5 separate regions of the Homo sapiens genome follow, and regions 2, 3, 4 and 5 are each linked to region 1. Evidence: promoter capture Hi-C in 16 types of primary human blood cells and fetal thymus (Javierre and others, 2016). All regions are on one chromosome and are shown on one strand. The core of a region is centred on a gene start or on the middle of the fragment in contact, and the rest is flanking DNA. Distances in the headings are between cores, read along the strand shown.

The links. The method cuts DNA at HindIII sites, captures the fragments that hold promoters and counts their contacts. A CHiCAGO score of 5 or more calls a contact.
Region 2: a fragment that was not itself captured here is called in contact with the fragment with the promoter of MPLKIP in region 1 in 2 of 17 cell types (naive CD8 T cells and activated CD4 T cells); the score reaches 7.5 in naive CD8 T cells.
Region 3: a fragment that was not itself captured here is called in contact with the fragment with the promoter of MPLKIP in region 1 in 2 of 17 cell types (neutrophils and total B cells); the score reaches 8.4 in neutrophils.
Region 4: a contact is called between a fragment that was not itself captured here and the fragment with the promoter of MPLKIP in region 1, in 1 of 17 cell types (neutrophils). The highest score is 6.7, in neutrophils.
Region 5: a fragment that was not itself captured here is called in contact with the fragment with the promoter of MPLKIP in region 1 in 3 of 17 cell types (non-activated CD4 T cells, activated CD4 T cells and naive CD4 T cells); the score reaches 8.9 in non-activated CD4 T cells.

What each region holds. Positions count from the first base shown.
Region 1 is chr7:40,133,340-40,135,904 of GRCh38, reverse strand. It overlaps MPLKIP (M-phase specific PLK1 interacting protein), which reads left to right and starts at 1,283. Exons shown (of 2, transcript NM_138701.4): 1 at 1,283-1,676. The coding sequence starts at 1,338. SUGCT (succinyl-CoA:glutarate-CoA transferase) reads right to left here and starts at 900. Exons shown (of 14, transcript NM_001193313.2): 1 at 785-900. The coding sequence starts at 884. RefSeq lists silencers at 828-1,027, 1,488-1,557 and an enhancer at 1,208-1,277. The HindIII fragment of the contact is 4,548 bases long and covers 1-2,565 here.
Region 2 is chr7:38,374,116-38,376,680 of GRCh38, reverse strand. It overlaps TRG-AS1 (T cell receptor gamma locus antisense RNA 1), which reads right to left. Exons shown (of 4, transcript NR_040085.2): 4 at 1-1,124. Among named protein-coding and RNA genes, the nearest start is that of TRG-AS1, 34 kb to the right of the region's middle. RefSeq lists a silencer at 1,899-2,193. The HindIII fragment of the contact is 952 bases long and covers 817-1,768 here.
Region 3 is chr7:41,868,758-41,871,322 of GRCh38, reverse strand. No RefSeq gene overlaps it. Among named protein-coding and RNA genes, the nearest start is that of INHBA, 170 kb to the right of the region's middle. RefSeq lists an enhancer at 649-698. The HindIII fragment of the contact is 5,071 bases long and covers 1-2,565 here.
Region 4 is chr7:41,715,772-41,718,336 of GRCh38, reverse strand. All of the region lies in intron 2 of INHBA-AS1 (INHBA antisense RNA 1), which reads right to left. Among named protein-coding and RNA genes, the nearest start is that of INHBA, 14 kb to the right of the region's middle. The HindIII fragment of the contact is 4,048 bases long and covers 1-2,565 here.
Region 5 is chr7:38,915,813-38,918,377 of GRCh38, reverse strand. No RefSeq gene overlaps it. Among named protein-coding and RNA genes, the nearest start is that of VPS41, 7.9 kb to the right of the region's middle. The HindIII fragment of the contact is 5,075 bases long and covers 1-2,565 here.

The DNA.
Region 1 (2,565 bases), core at 34-2,533:
CGGGAGGATAACTTGAGGTCAGGAATTCGAGACCAGCCTGGCCAATATGGCGAAACCCCGTCTCTACTAAAAATACAAAAATTAGTTGGGCGTGGTGGCGCATGCCTATAATCCCAGCTACTCGGAAGGCTGAAGCAGGAAAATCTCCTGAACACGGGAGGAGGAGGTTGCAGTGAGCCGAGATCGCGCCACTGCAGTCCAGCCTGGGCGAGACAGCGAGACTCCGTCTCAAAAAAAAGAGAAAAAAAGAAAAAAGGAAAAAAAAGATTCATAGTGGATTACCATTCCCAAATTCAGAGGGAGTAAAGAAAGTTCTATAACACTGTAGTAAAGCTAAATTTCATCCTCTAAATAAAATTCTGCAACAGGTAACTGTACAAGGGCATCTTTTATTGTACATGAAGTGTCAAGTTATTCAAAGCAGCGGGCTAAAGTCCTTTCTGAAATGTGGCTTGGTGTGCATTTTCGAAGTTACTTAAACTTGGCGGACGAAAGGACAGGAGTAAAGAGGCCCCAAACGCGAGCCGCGGGACGCGCAGGAGCGGGACCCCACGGCGCACGGAGCCCTCGGTCACAACAACGCACGGGACAGAGGCGACCCTGGGCGGCCAGAGCGGGGCAGGCCGGCCGCAGGCCCACGGAACGGGGTTGCAGGGAGGCGAGCAAAGCCACCGCTAAGGGGTCAGCAGAGACTTCAGACCCTAATTGCTCTCCTCAGGGCGCCCGAGGAGGCAAGCTGGGGCAGGGATCCCTTTAGCCACCCAGACCGAATCTCGGAGGGTACCTGACTGCGGGCGGCCAGTCCACAGCCCCCTCCCGCCGCCCCGGCCGGAGAAGAGGCAGGTTCTGCGCAGAGCTGCCACCCTCGCCAGCGTCGCCAGCATCGCGTGCGTCTCAGATGGCATCGGTCCCGGTGCAAGCGGCGAACTCCGTGCGGCGCCACCCGCCGCCACTGGGGGGCGCCCACGGACGCCGCAGACCCCGCCCCCGCCGGGCGGGGCTGAGCACTAGTCGCCTGCTGGGCCAGCTTCTAGTCTGTCGGTCAGACCAAGGGCACTCAGACTGGAAAGGTTGTTGCTGGGCTTGGGTGTCCGTCCTTTCCTGTCTCCTTTTCTTCCTCTTTTCACTTAAATCCACTGAGTCTCTCGCCAAGTCAGTGATTTAGGTAATCCCGCCGCCCCTGGCGGAACCTTTGTGACGCCGGAACTGATGTGCCGTAGGGTGGCTGCGGTCGGAGGACTGTTTTGGTAAAGGACTAGCAGTTCTCTGCGGAGGGCCGGTTGATACAGTTCCGGTGGGAGAACGCGGCTGCGAGGTTTTCGGCTTTGGCTCCTGATATGCAGCGACAGAATTTTCGGCCCCCAACTCCTCCTTACCCTGGTCCGGGTGGAGGAGGTTGGGGTAGCGGAAGCAGCTTCCGGGGAACCCCGGGCGGGGGCGGACCACGGCCGCCCTCCCCTCGAGACGGGTACGGGAGTCCGCACCACACGCCGCCGTACGGGCCCCGGTCTAGGCCGTACGGGAGCAGTCACTCTCCGCGACACGGCGGCAGCTTCCCGGGGGGCCGGTTCGGGTCTCCGTCCCCTGGCGGCTACCCTGGCTCCTACTCCAGGTCCCCCGCGGGGTCCCAGCAGCAATTCGGCTACTCCCCAGGGCAGCAGCAGACCCACCCCCAGGTAATAATAATAGCCAGCGTTTGCCGAGCTCTTACTTTATGGCAGGCACGGTACTAATATTCCCTTTACGTGGATTATTTTGTCTAATCCTCTCTGAGGTACTATTGTTAGCCCAATTTTGCAGATGAGCGAACTGAGGCTTAGAGAAGTTGAGTGACTTCCGGAAGATTATCCGAAAGAGTGGCAGAGCCGTACGTTCTGTTTTCGAGCCCTCGTGCTTTTAACCAATACACTGCCACCCGTACACAGATTTTCCTAATTCTCCATTTCCTCCTGTTTGCCAAAGGCCTTGCCAGTTTGTTTCAAGAAATAGTTCTTTTTCTTTTTTTTTTTTTTTTTTTTATCTTTCTTTCGAGCTACACTGGCTTCTGCTCCAACTTCCCTGAAAAGAAAATCGGTGGTAGTGGAAGTTTTCCATTCCTTTAGTGAGAGTAAATACAAAAGACAGAGAGAGTATCTCTAGCATGTCTGGGATTTCTGTGGTTTACAACTTGCAACTACGTGGTTTTCCAACTTGCTGTATTCTACACCAACCCCCTACCCCTTTTGAGCCTGGAGCTAAGGAGTAAAGAAAATGTTCATGAGCTAGAAAGGTTCTAGAAACTTTAAAACTATAGTATTGTTTTCTCCTGAAAAAAGTGAAAATTTCGAGGGAAAATTGAATATAATTACTTGATTTCATCACTGCTTGTATTTAATTACTGCAAAGTTACTACATTAGACACAAAAGTATTTGAGATGACAGTGGTCATGGAATTATAAATAAATGAGAATAACGAATTGCTTTAAGTACTTTTTTTAAAAAATAGGAACACTTGATTAAAGGAAGCATGGACTTTGTAATTGAACATTATTTAGGTTCAAGTCACAACTTTTAAGCAGCAATGTG
Region 2 (2,565 bases), core at 43-2,542, 1.8 Mb after region 1:
ACATTTTTGCTAAAAATCAAGACACAGCCACACATTAGCCTAGGCCTACAGGGTCGAGATCTTCAATATCACTGTAGTCCAGCTCCACATCTTGTACCCACGGAGGGTCATCAGGGCAGTAACACACATGGAGCTGTCATCTCCTAGGACAACAGTGCCTTCTTCTGGAATTCCTACTGAAGGGCCTGCCTGAGGCTGTTTTACAGTTAACTTTTTTTTTTTTTACAAGTAGAAGTTGTACACTCTAAAATAATGATTAAAAAGTATAATATAGTAATTACATAAACCAGTAACATGGTCATTTATTATAATTTTCAAGTATGTACTGTGCGTAGCTGGATGTGCTAGACTTTTATACAACTGGCAGTACAGTAGGTTTGTGTACACCAGGGTCACCACAAATGAGAGTCGTGTTGTGATGTTATGATGGCTACGATGTCACTAGATGACAGGAATTTTTCTGCACCTCTATCATCTCATGGGACTGTGGTACATGCGGCCCATCGTTACTGAAATGTGATGAAGTGCATGACTCTAGTCTTCACAGATACGGAGGCTCTAAGGACAGATATCAAATACATTAGACTGGGCACCTATGGGGGAACAGGAATAGGGAATGAAGGAGAGAAAAGAGTAAAATAAAAAACAAACATGCAAAACTGTACATAACTGGCATGGATTAATGGTGATAATGTACCAGGCACTGAGAAATATGACAGAAAAATATGAGAATTAAGGTTTTAAAAAACAAGCAAAAAACAAGAAGATACCAAGCACTGATTTCAGGATAACTCCCTGAAGCCTCATATTTAAGCTTTGAGACTTAATTTTGGACAATCCAAAACAGTGGTTCCAATGAGTAAATCACAATTAGGGTAATCCAAAGAGCTCTCTTTCTTCAGTTGTCTGTGGAAAATGTGACATTTTCCTTCAGGTAAAATCCGTGTACACTGGCTGCCAGCACAGAGCCATCTGGCTGGCCTTGGCCGCTGGGCATTGGTCTTGGCTTTGTCCCACCCCCGCAGCAGCCTTCTTCTCCAGGATGGTCAAAGCTCACCCAGAGCAAAGATGCTCTGCACTCAGGAACACTGGATTCAGGCATTGATCCAAGCCCCCGTGCAGCTCTGTGATATAAAAATGAGAGGAGGGAGGAGAACTTGTCTTTTAGCCAAAACATTTTCTAAACCACAGGCAGTTACCATGTCCTTCAGAGTCAAGGCACATTAGGTACAAGGATTATTGATAATAATCCTTGTAATTTTTAAGACCACAAAACATTGAAACATTGAAAATTATAAATAGATAACATCAAAGCATGGTGGGAATTCTATTTTGTATGCATGTTTAGACTAAGGATCTTTTCTTTTTTTCCAGACTGGGCCAGAACCAAGTACCTGTAAGAATCAGCACAGTTCAGCCTTTTGTATCAATTGCAGTTGTGTCCATGTATGTGTGTGTGCATTCTTGGGTACATGTGCACACACCTGCATGTTACCTACACAAACCTCCGTGTTCCCATCCTTCTTAGGTGGGATTTTTGAACACTGCATTTACACTGGCCTGAAATAAGTTTGTTAAAGTCATCGGCCTCATGTAGTGGCCAGGCTGGGCTGCAAAGCCATTGGCTATCCAAACATTCAGAAGACCTTTAGGAATCAATGTTTTTGTTAAGGAGTCTATATAGAATAGGCTTTTCCTAGAGCAATGTTGAGTCAAGAGGAAGCAAATAACATGCATTATTGTTGGATCAAAATAAAAACTAGAAGCTTCCATTTTTCATTTCACCACACCTATTCCTTCAATATCCAGTTTATCAATTCAATTCAGAATCACAATTAGAACTAGAAGAGACCAAAAACATCACCCACTCCTCTGATTTTGAGGCGGGGGAAATGACAGCCCTGCAAGAAGGAGTCTCTTGCCTAAAACTATCAAGCACATAAGGTGTGCAGTTGGAACCTGCCTTGCATTTGGGGACCTTTCCATTCGTTATACGAAGTCTTTGCCATTCGTTGGGGTCTAATATTGGGGTAATATAACATGTATGGTATACCTCGAATGGCCAGGAGGGGGTGCTACAGGTTTGTACAAATAACTAAATGCAGTCAAAACACTACTTCTTTTAAAGCATGAAGCTGGGAGTTGAAATCAAATCGGAAATATAACATTTTGTATCAAAATGCAGCAGCTTCATGAAGACAGAAATTAATCCCTGAATCATAAACAGCCAAGCAGTTCCCTTATGGTACAGGCTCTGGAGACTTGTCTGTTTGGTTCAAATTCTTGGTGTGCTGTTTATTAGCTAGGTGACCTCGAGGAGTTATTTAACCTCTCTGTAAGCTTCAATTTCATCTGAAAAATGGGGATAAGTAACACCTATTTTCTGCTTGCAAGAAAAGAATAAATATATACAATGTTTGACACTCAAAGGGTATTTGCTATCATTTAATGGATCAAGAATTTCTGCTATGACTTTAAAAATTAGTCTTTTAATAAAAGGCCATTAACTATTTACTTAACAGTGCTAGAGGAAATTCCTATGACTTTTTGAGGTCCACCATAATT
Region 3 (2,565 bases), core at 48-2,547, 1.7 Mb before region 1:
CATTATAGGAACTCAGATGGCCTGAAAATTAAGTTCCTTTAAACCATCTGACACTGTTTTCCAACTTTTAAAATGTATTGCATAGTTTTTGGCTTATTTCTTTTTCTTCTTTCTGAATCAATTCTTTTAGTAATCATAGTCTTAAAAATAATTTCTTCAATTGATATTTTCCAAATTATTAGCAGAAAATTGATGACAGAATTATGCCAGGGTAGAGGGGTGGGAAATGGACTAGGAAGGGGGCACTTTTAAATTAAAAAAAAAGTTTTTATTTTGATTGTGGTGGTGTTTATGTGGTGTATATATTTGTCAGAACTCATTGAAATTTGCACTTGAAATCAATGCATTTTATTGTAAACAAACTATCAATAAAGTTGATTTATTTTAAAAAGCCTTTTTAATATTTGGTTATTTTCAATGTGTTAGTCACATGTAAAATATAGTTGTGTGTTTTAGCCTTTTGTGGTCACAGTGAGAAGGCTTTCTTCTTTCATTTGATAAGAAACAGCTGTGACTAATTAGCTTTTCTCAACCACCAACTATATAATGTATATATGCAATTGATATATAGTCAACTAGGGTGACCAACTATCCTGGTTTACCAGGGATGGAGGGATTTCCCAGGATGGAGGACTTTCAGTGTTAAAACCAGAAAGGTCTTAGGCAAATGAGGAAAGTCCCAGACAAGTCAGGATGAGTTGGTTACCCTAGGTATATAGCTGAACACACTTAGCATTTCTTGTAATATACAGTAAACGACATATTACATAGCAAGAGGAAGTAAAGAGACTTAGCATGAACATAGTCTCCACAGCAGATAGAATTTACACATTAATTTTTAAATGGTGTAAGAAAGTTTTGATAAATGATCTAATTCTGGTACTAGTTATAGACCTTGAGAACTAGGGTACCCACATTGCTAGTTTACCATGGTAGCTACCCATCATCTCTCCGTGTCCTGAGACTATGTGGGAACCTACACAATCTTCCTGGCTCTGGTCTGCTGTCATCAGAAACACCAAACACTTAAAAAAAGTGCCAAGTCACTGGACCTACGGGGTTAGTTCATTTTGAAAACGGAACTGGACTTTCTACCAAGAACCAGAAAAATGTTGAAAACATAAAACAACAAGAATCTGTGGTGTGTTTGTAAAAACCAAGCCTCTGACCCTGATCTAAACCAGACTGTTCTCCTCCTGGCTTCCTCCCTTTTTCCTTTAATTAAGCTAACTGGAAAGGCAAGGCTTTCATCAGACCAAGACGACAATCTTCCTACCCTAATCTCTAGGACAAAACAGAGAATCTGGTCTGGAATTGAATTTGAAATATTAAAGAAAAATGCCTACCAGCTTAATGTTGTCACTGTCGTATGTTTATTTTTCTTCCTTTTATGTCTGATGTCAAGGAGAAAATAATGTCATCTGCTGGAAATTTCAGCATGTTTGCATTTTGAGATAATTAAAATTAATGGTGGAGAGCCAAACTAGCACCAAACAATCCCTGTGATTCCCATGTGCGTAAAAACATTTTGTAATGACTTTCACTTAATCTGTGAGCCTGGCAGGCTGCCCCAAACCACCTAGATCCAAACTAGATTCAAGCAGCAAAGTTTGCTTTTCAAAAATAAAAATGTATATTCTGGAAGTTAGAAATTAGGGCATCGGTAAAATAGTTAGGCTCTGCAGATTGCTTTATCCATTTGGGGTTTTCCTCCAACTATGTTTCTTCCTTTTCCAGCTTGGATGGCAGGACTTCTAGTGCACATGGCAATAATGTTGCACCTCACAGCTATTGGAAAGGCAAGTCTTCCATAGGAAGGAGCAGAAATGAATTTTCCTTAAGGATCTGTAAACCCAGGAAACTCAGCTCTGAGAGATCATCTGTGAGATTCATTCAGTGAGGAAACTCAGACACAATGGTCATTTTTTGTAGGGCAGGTAGTAGTTGACAGGATGTTTGACTTTTCAATAGACTGCTTTACCAACTGTGTAACAGTCAATGTGATTCATCCATAAGAATCTCTTGCTTAATATCTTTTAGTAACCTCTCATCATCCACAGGGTAAACCCCAAACTCCTAACCCCTTGGCATGAAGCCCAAGGCTTTTCTTAAACTGGAGCATTTTTAGTTTCTAGCTTCATTTTCCTACTGACCATCCCATATATCACAGGCCATAGCTATCAAACACCTTGTAGTTTTCTGAACATATGGTGCTGTTCTGGGTACATACTCTTCCCACTATTTAGGAAACTCCTAAATCACTTCATGAATAATCTAGCACTTTACATCTGGTAGATGCTCAGTATATTTGCTGAATAAATAAATTTTAGAGCTTAACTCAAAAAACGCTTTTTCTGACTCCCTACATGAAATAAGGACTCCATTTTCTGTCTTTCCAAAATTCCTTGGATGTGCTTTAGCATGGTGGTTCACAACCAGGTGAGATTTTGCCTCCCAGGAATATCTGACAATGTCTAGAGACATTTTTGGTTGTCACACTGAGAGGGTGCTACTGGCATTTAGTGGCTAGTGGCCAGGGGTGCTGCTAACCATCTTACAATGCAC
Region 4 (2,565 bases), core at 18-2,517, 1.6 Mb before region 1:
ATGCGTAGCAGAAATGAGTGCTTGATCAATGATAACTAACAGAGCATCATCTTCATCGTATTTCCACCTTCATCTAAAAACAGCCTTGAGGCTGTGGCTATCACATTATACATCTCTGTGCCAGACATCTACCCCAGGTTTTTTATTCAGCCAACCCTCTCTTACAGACCTTTGAATCCCTTAACACCAAAGACTTTCACAACCACTCCACATAAGAAACACATCCTATGCCCATGCCCTGGGCTGTTTCACTATTCACAATGGTTTGTCCTTTGAAATCTTAATCTTCAGCATTCCATTTTCTGAGACCCAATGCCCATTAGCTCTCACTCTCTCTCAACATACCTACATTTCACATCATCGATATCTCTGATTCCTGGATGATGCTATTTTTCACAAACTATCAGTTGCTTTCTGGCTTCACTTCTTTCTTCACCTGGTTCAGATTCCTGAGGGCACAGCTCAGTTTCTTTACTGACCTTTCCTTTTACTCCCATTCTTTGTTGTCCTTTCTCAGCTCCTGCTCTGCCAGAATCTGAGTCTGGATCGCCCGATGTGCACTGTGTAGTGTGCAGCCAGTCACAATAGCCACATTCCAAATGTTCAATAAGCACACGTGGCCAGTGGCTACTCGATTGCACGGTACAGATTGTAGAAACTTTTCATGATTGCAGAAAGTTCTACTGGACAGGAGTGCTATATCTAAACAATTGACCTTCTCTCTTCTACACTTTACAGTGAAGAACACTTCTGGGTAAGACAGAACAACTCTGTGGTTTGGTGTTCCTGAAACTTCTGTGCATTCAGTCTCAATGACTTCCAGAATGCCTGGAGGTGTTCGGAAGCCCCCTCATCTCCTATCTGCTTCTGCCACTGTTATAACATTTCATCTGTCTTTTCAAACCTTCCACTCCACCACCTCCACCAGCTTTGACATCTCTCTCAGCAGATGAGCTTACCTTCTTTTTTACTGCAAAATCAATGAGATGAAAATTCTCTTAATTCCCTTCTCTGTCAGTTATTATCATGTCTCTCTATGCCTATCCTTTATTTTTTTTTCTTCTTGTTTAATTTAAGGCTAATCCTACCACCTATGCTTAGGATTAATTCATCAGCCAACAAATATTTATTGAGCAACTACTACATGTCAAACACAGTTTCAGGTGCCAAGATTTAGCTGTTAACAAAACAATGTCTCTACCCTCATTCTAGTGTTGTCACATAGGCAATAAAAAAATACCTCAGATGGTGATAAATATAACAGAGAAAAATGAAACAGCCTGGGTGTTAGGGTGTACCAGGATGGAGTCCGTTGCTATTTTATATTGAGTGGTCCAAAAAGGCTTCAGCGATCTGGAAACAAATAACAAGAAATTCAGGGAGTGAGCTGCGAGGGTGTCTGATGGAAAATGATGAAATTCCTGGCAGAGGCGACGTCAAGCACAAAGGCTTGGGAAATGCACGAGCTCATTCTGTTGGAAGGATAGCAAGGGGGATCACATGGGAAGAAGACAGAGACCAAGGAGAAACAGAGAAGAAGGCACGTTCGGGGATGTGGCCAGGTCACGTAGCTTCTCTCTGGCCACAATAGTGAGCGAGTGGAGAAGCCACGGGAGGGTAGGAGCAAAGGAGAGACCTCATCTGCCTTGCATTTTTGAAAGGGTCATTTTGAGTGTTGGATTCCAGATAGTCTATGGGGGCAAGGATGGGAGTAGGGAGATTTGCTAGGAGGCTGTTGCAATTATTCAGGTGTGGTGGTATATTTAGGTCAATAGGGATGGCAGTTTGGCCTGAGGGACGGTGGTGGAGGTGGTAAGGAGTGGTGTGAATGTGGGTCTATTTTGGAATCAATCCATCATTTCTCACTTCAGCAGGAAACTTGCTTATCTGTCTTCTCTCATATTGTAAAATTATTTACCTTTAGCAGTTCACTTCTCTCCGAAGAGCTTAAATCTCTATCTTAAAATTTAAAAGGGCTTTCTCTCAATCCTCAATGTCTCCTTCTCTAGTCATTACTCAATTTCTTCTTCACGTTTGACAGAATACATCTCCTTAGTCTTCTCATCCCCTTCTCTTCCCACTAAAATCTATCCCCAAGTAACAAAGCTGATCTGCTCAGGCTAGCACTGGCACTGATTAGAATATTGCCAGATCTATTGGGCCTTTCTGTCAGTGTCTTACTTGACCACATCGTGTCATATGACCTTTTCAAACTCTCACTTTTCTTGGCTTCCTTGACAATGTTCCCTACTTGTTTTTCTCCTACACATCTGACTCCTTCTCAAAGCTCCTCACAGGCTCCTCTTCCTCCACTCACCTCGTAAATATGAAGGTTCCCAAGCCTCTGCCTTTAAATTTCTCATCTTCTGCTCTTCTCTGTCTTGAAGGTAATAGTTGCTAGAAGAAATAGTTCCCAAAATGATGATGCCTCAAAATCAATAAAGGCTTATTTCTCACTCAAGCAATAATACAAAACAAACATTTAGTGTTTTAAAACTAGTATAATGTTTTAGAATTGAAATTCTAACCCAGGGGCCAGGATACCAGATAGCTATCATATACCAG
Region 5 (2,565 bases), core at 43-2,542, 1.2 Mb after region 1:
TTTTTTTTATTTGTTCGGTTGGTTGATTTTTTTTTTTTTTTGAGATGGAGTCTCGCTCTGTCACCCAGGCTGGAGTGCAGTGGCGCGATCTCAGCTCACTACAAGCTCCGTCTCCCGGGTTCATGCCATTTTCCTACCTCAGCCTGCCAAGTAGCTGGGACTACAGGCGCCCACCACCACACCTGGCTAGTTTTTTTGTATTTTTAGTAGAGATGGGGTTTCACCATGCTAGCCAGGATGGTCTCAATCTCCTGACCTCGTCATCCACCCACCTCAGCCTTCCAAAGTGCTGGGATTACAGGTGTGAGCCACCGCGCCCAGGCAATAAGTTTTTTAAAAATGCCACAGAACTCTAGAGTGTGATTCAAATTATGTTTAAAACACATAAAGGAAGCCCTTGTATACATATCTGTGGGAAAAAAAATCTGGAAAAATATCCCTCAAAATACTGCAATGAATATAAAGACAAAATTCCTCCTAGGGTCTCTTCTCACTCTTGTTCATTACTGAGTGATATCAGACAGACCATTTATACATTGCCTTTTTCTTTTTAAAAAGACATTAACCTTCTCCATTAATTTCTAATACTTCCCATCTAGACATCCATAAATGTGAAGTATTAACATACTCTGGAGTGTTTTCCAATACCTACAATCAACTCTTGGACTCACTGGACACCAGCTGGGTGTTCAACAACTTAACTCAATTCTGATACTAACCACCCGGGGTTAGCACAGACCCTATAGCTTAAGAGCTCAGTCCCACAAAACTGCCCCCTACTTCAAATGTCAGTTGCAAGTCCTGGGCCTCCTGTGCTTCTGGCCAACCAGGTATAAATAGGAGCTTCCTATGAACCCCTTCTAAGGTTCCATAACTTGTTAGAATGACTCACAGAACTCAGGAAGACACTTTACTTACATTTACCAGTTTATTATAAAGGATACAAATGAACATCCAGATGAAGAGGTACACAGGGCAAGGTCTGGAAGGGTACGGAGCACAGCAGCTTCCGTCCCCATGGGGTACTCCATGCTCCCACTGCGTGGACGTGTTCACCAAATTGGAAACTCATCAAATCTCATTTCGAGAGTTTTTATAGAACTTAATCTCCAGTCTTCCCCGCCCCTCCCTGGGGGGCTGAAAGTTCCAGCCCTATAATCAATTGGTCTTTCTGGTGACCAGTCCCATCTTGCTGCTATATAGGAGCCCCACCCTAAGTCATCTCATTAGTATAAACTCAAGTGTGATAAAAAGGGATTCAATAACAAAATATACTCCTATCACTTGGGAAATTCTAAAGGTTTTAAGTGCTCTGTGCCAGGAACCAGAGATAAAGACCAAATATATTGCTTATGATAGCACACATATCTAGAAGGACGATCACTTATGGGAAATTGCATAGAAAAGGGTAACTGGTAGCATTTTCTAACCTCACTATGAGTAAGATACAGTTCCACGTTCTCTGTAATTGTACAGAAACTAACATTTTTGGGCCATACTCTTTCTTTATGTATAAGAGATTTCTGATAATCACTGCACAGTCTCCTTTGAGAGACTGAGTAAAGGGCGACTCTGCACATTCCCCCAAATTTCTTTTCTTCTTTTTATGAAAACAAGTAAGTCTTGAGAGTGGTCCTGTGCCTCTAAATGAGGATCATGAAAAATGGAACCTGAAGAGGAGACTGCAGTGTTCGTTATGTGTATACTGAAGTGCAGGAAACAAAATAGCAGTACAGCAGTGATAAATACAACTAGGCCCCAGCCTTTGGCAAGGAACTTGACCTACATTTTCTCATTTGTTTTTTGCAACAACCCTGATTGGAAGGTACTTTTAGCCCATTTAATAGCTAAGAATACTGGACTTTGGAAAAGTTAACTTGTCCTAGATTTATTATAAATGGCACACACAAAATTTGAATCCTGATCTGATTCTCAAGCTCTTAAATATCACAATGAACTGGAAAAAAAAATGCAAATTGGTACCCTGGCAGTAATGTTCTTGTCCTATGTCCCAAGATTCCAAAACTTTTATAATCTGAAAATTTGTTCTTCTCACACACGAGCGTGTGATTGCTCCCTTTCTCCTGTGTCAGGTGGGCAAGTAGAAGAATAATAATTTCCTCAGGTGCAGTAGGTGATGTCTTTTGGCTGAGTCATTTCTATTCTCAAAACTCCTCAATGGCTCCCTACCACTGTATCAGTTAGTATTAAGTCTGTCTGCTTGTGATAGGCAAGCTACAATAACACAAGGGATTATTATTTTATTCAAAATGAGTTTGGAGGCTGGGCTTAGTGGCTCACGCCTGTAATCTCAGCATTCTGGGAGGCCGAGGTGGGTGGATCACCTGAGCTCAGGAGTTCAAGACCAGCCTGAGCAACATGGTGAAACCCCGTCTCTGCTAAAAATACAAAAATTAGCCAGGCGTGGTGGTGTACACCTGTAGTCCCAGCTACTCGGGAGGCTAAGGCAGGAGAATCACTTGAGCGGGTAGGCGGAGGTTGCAGTGAGCCAAGATCCTGCCACTGGACTCCAGCCCTGGTGACAAGAGTAAAACCCTGTTTGAA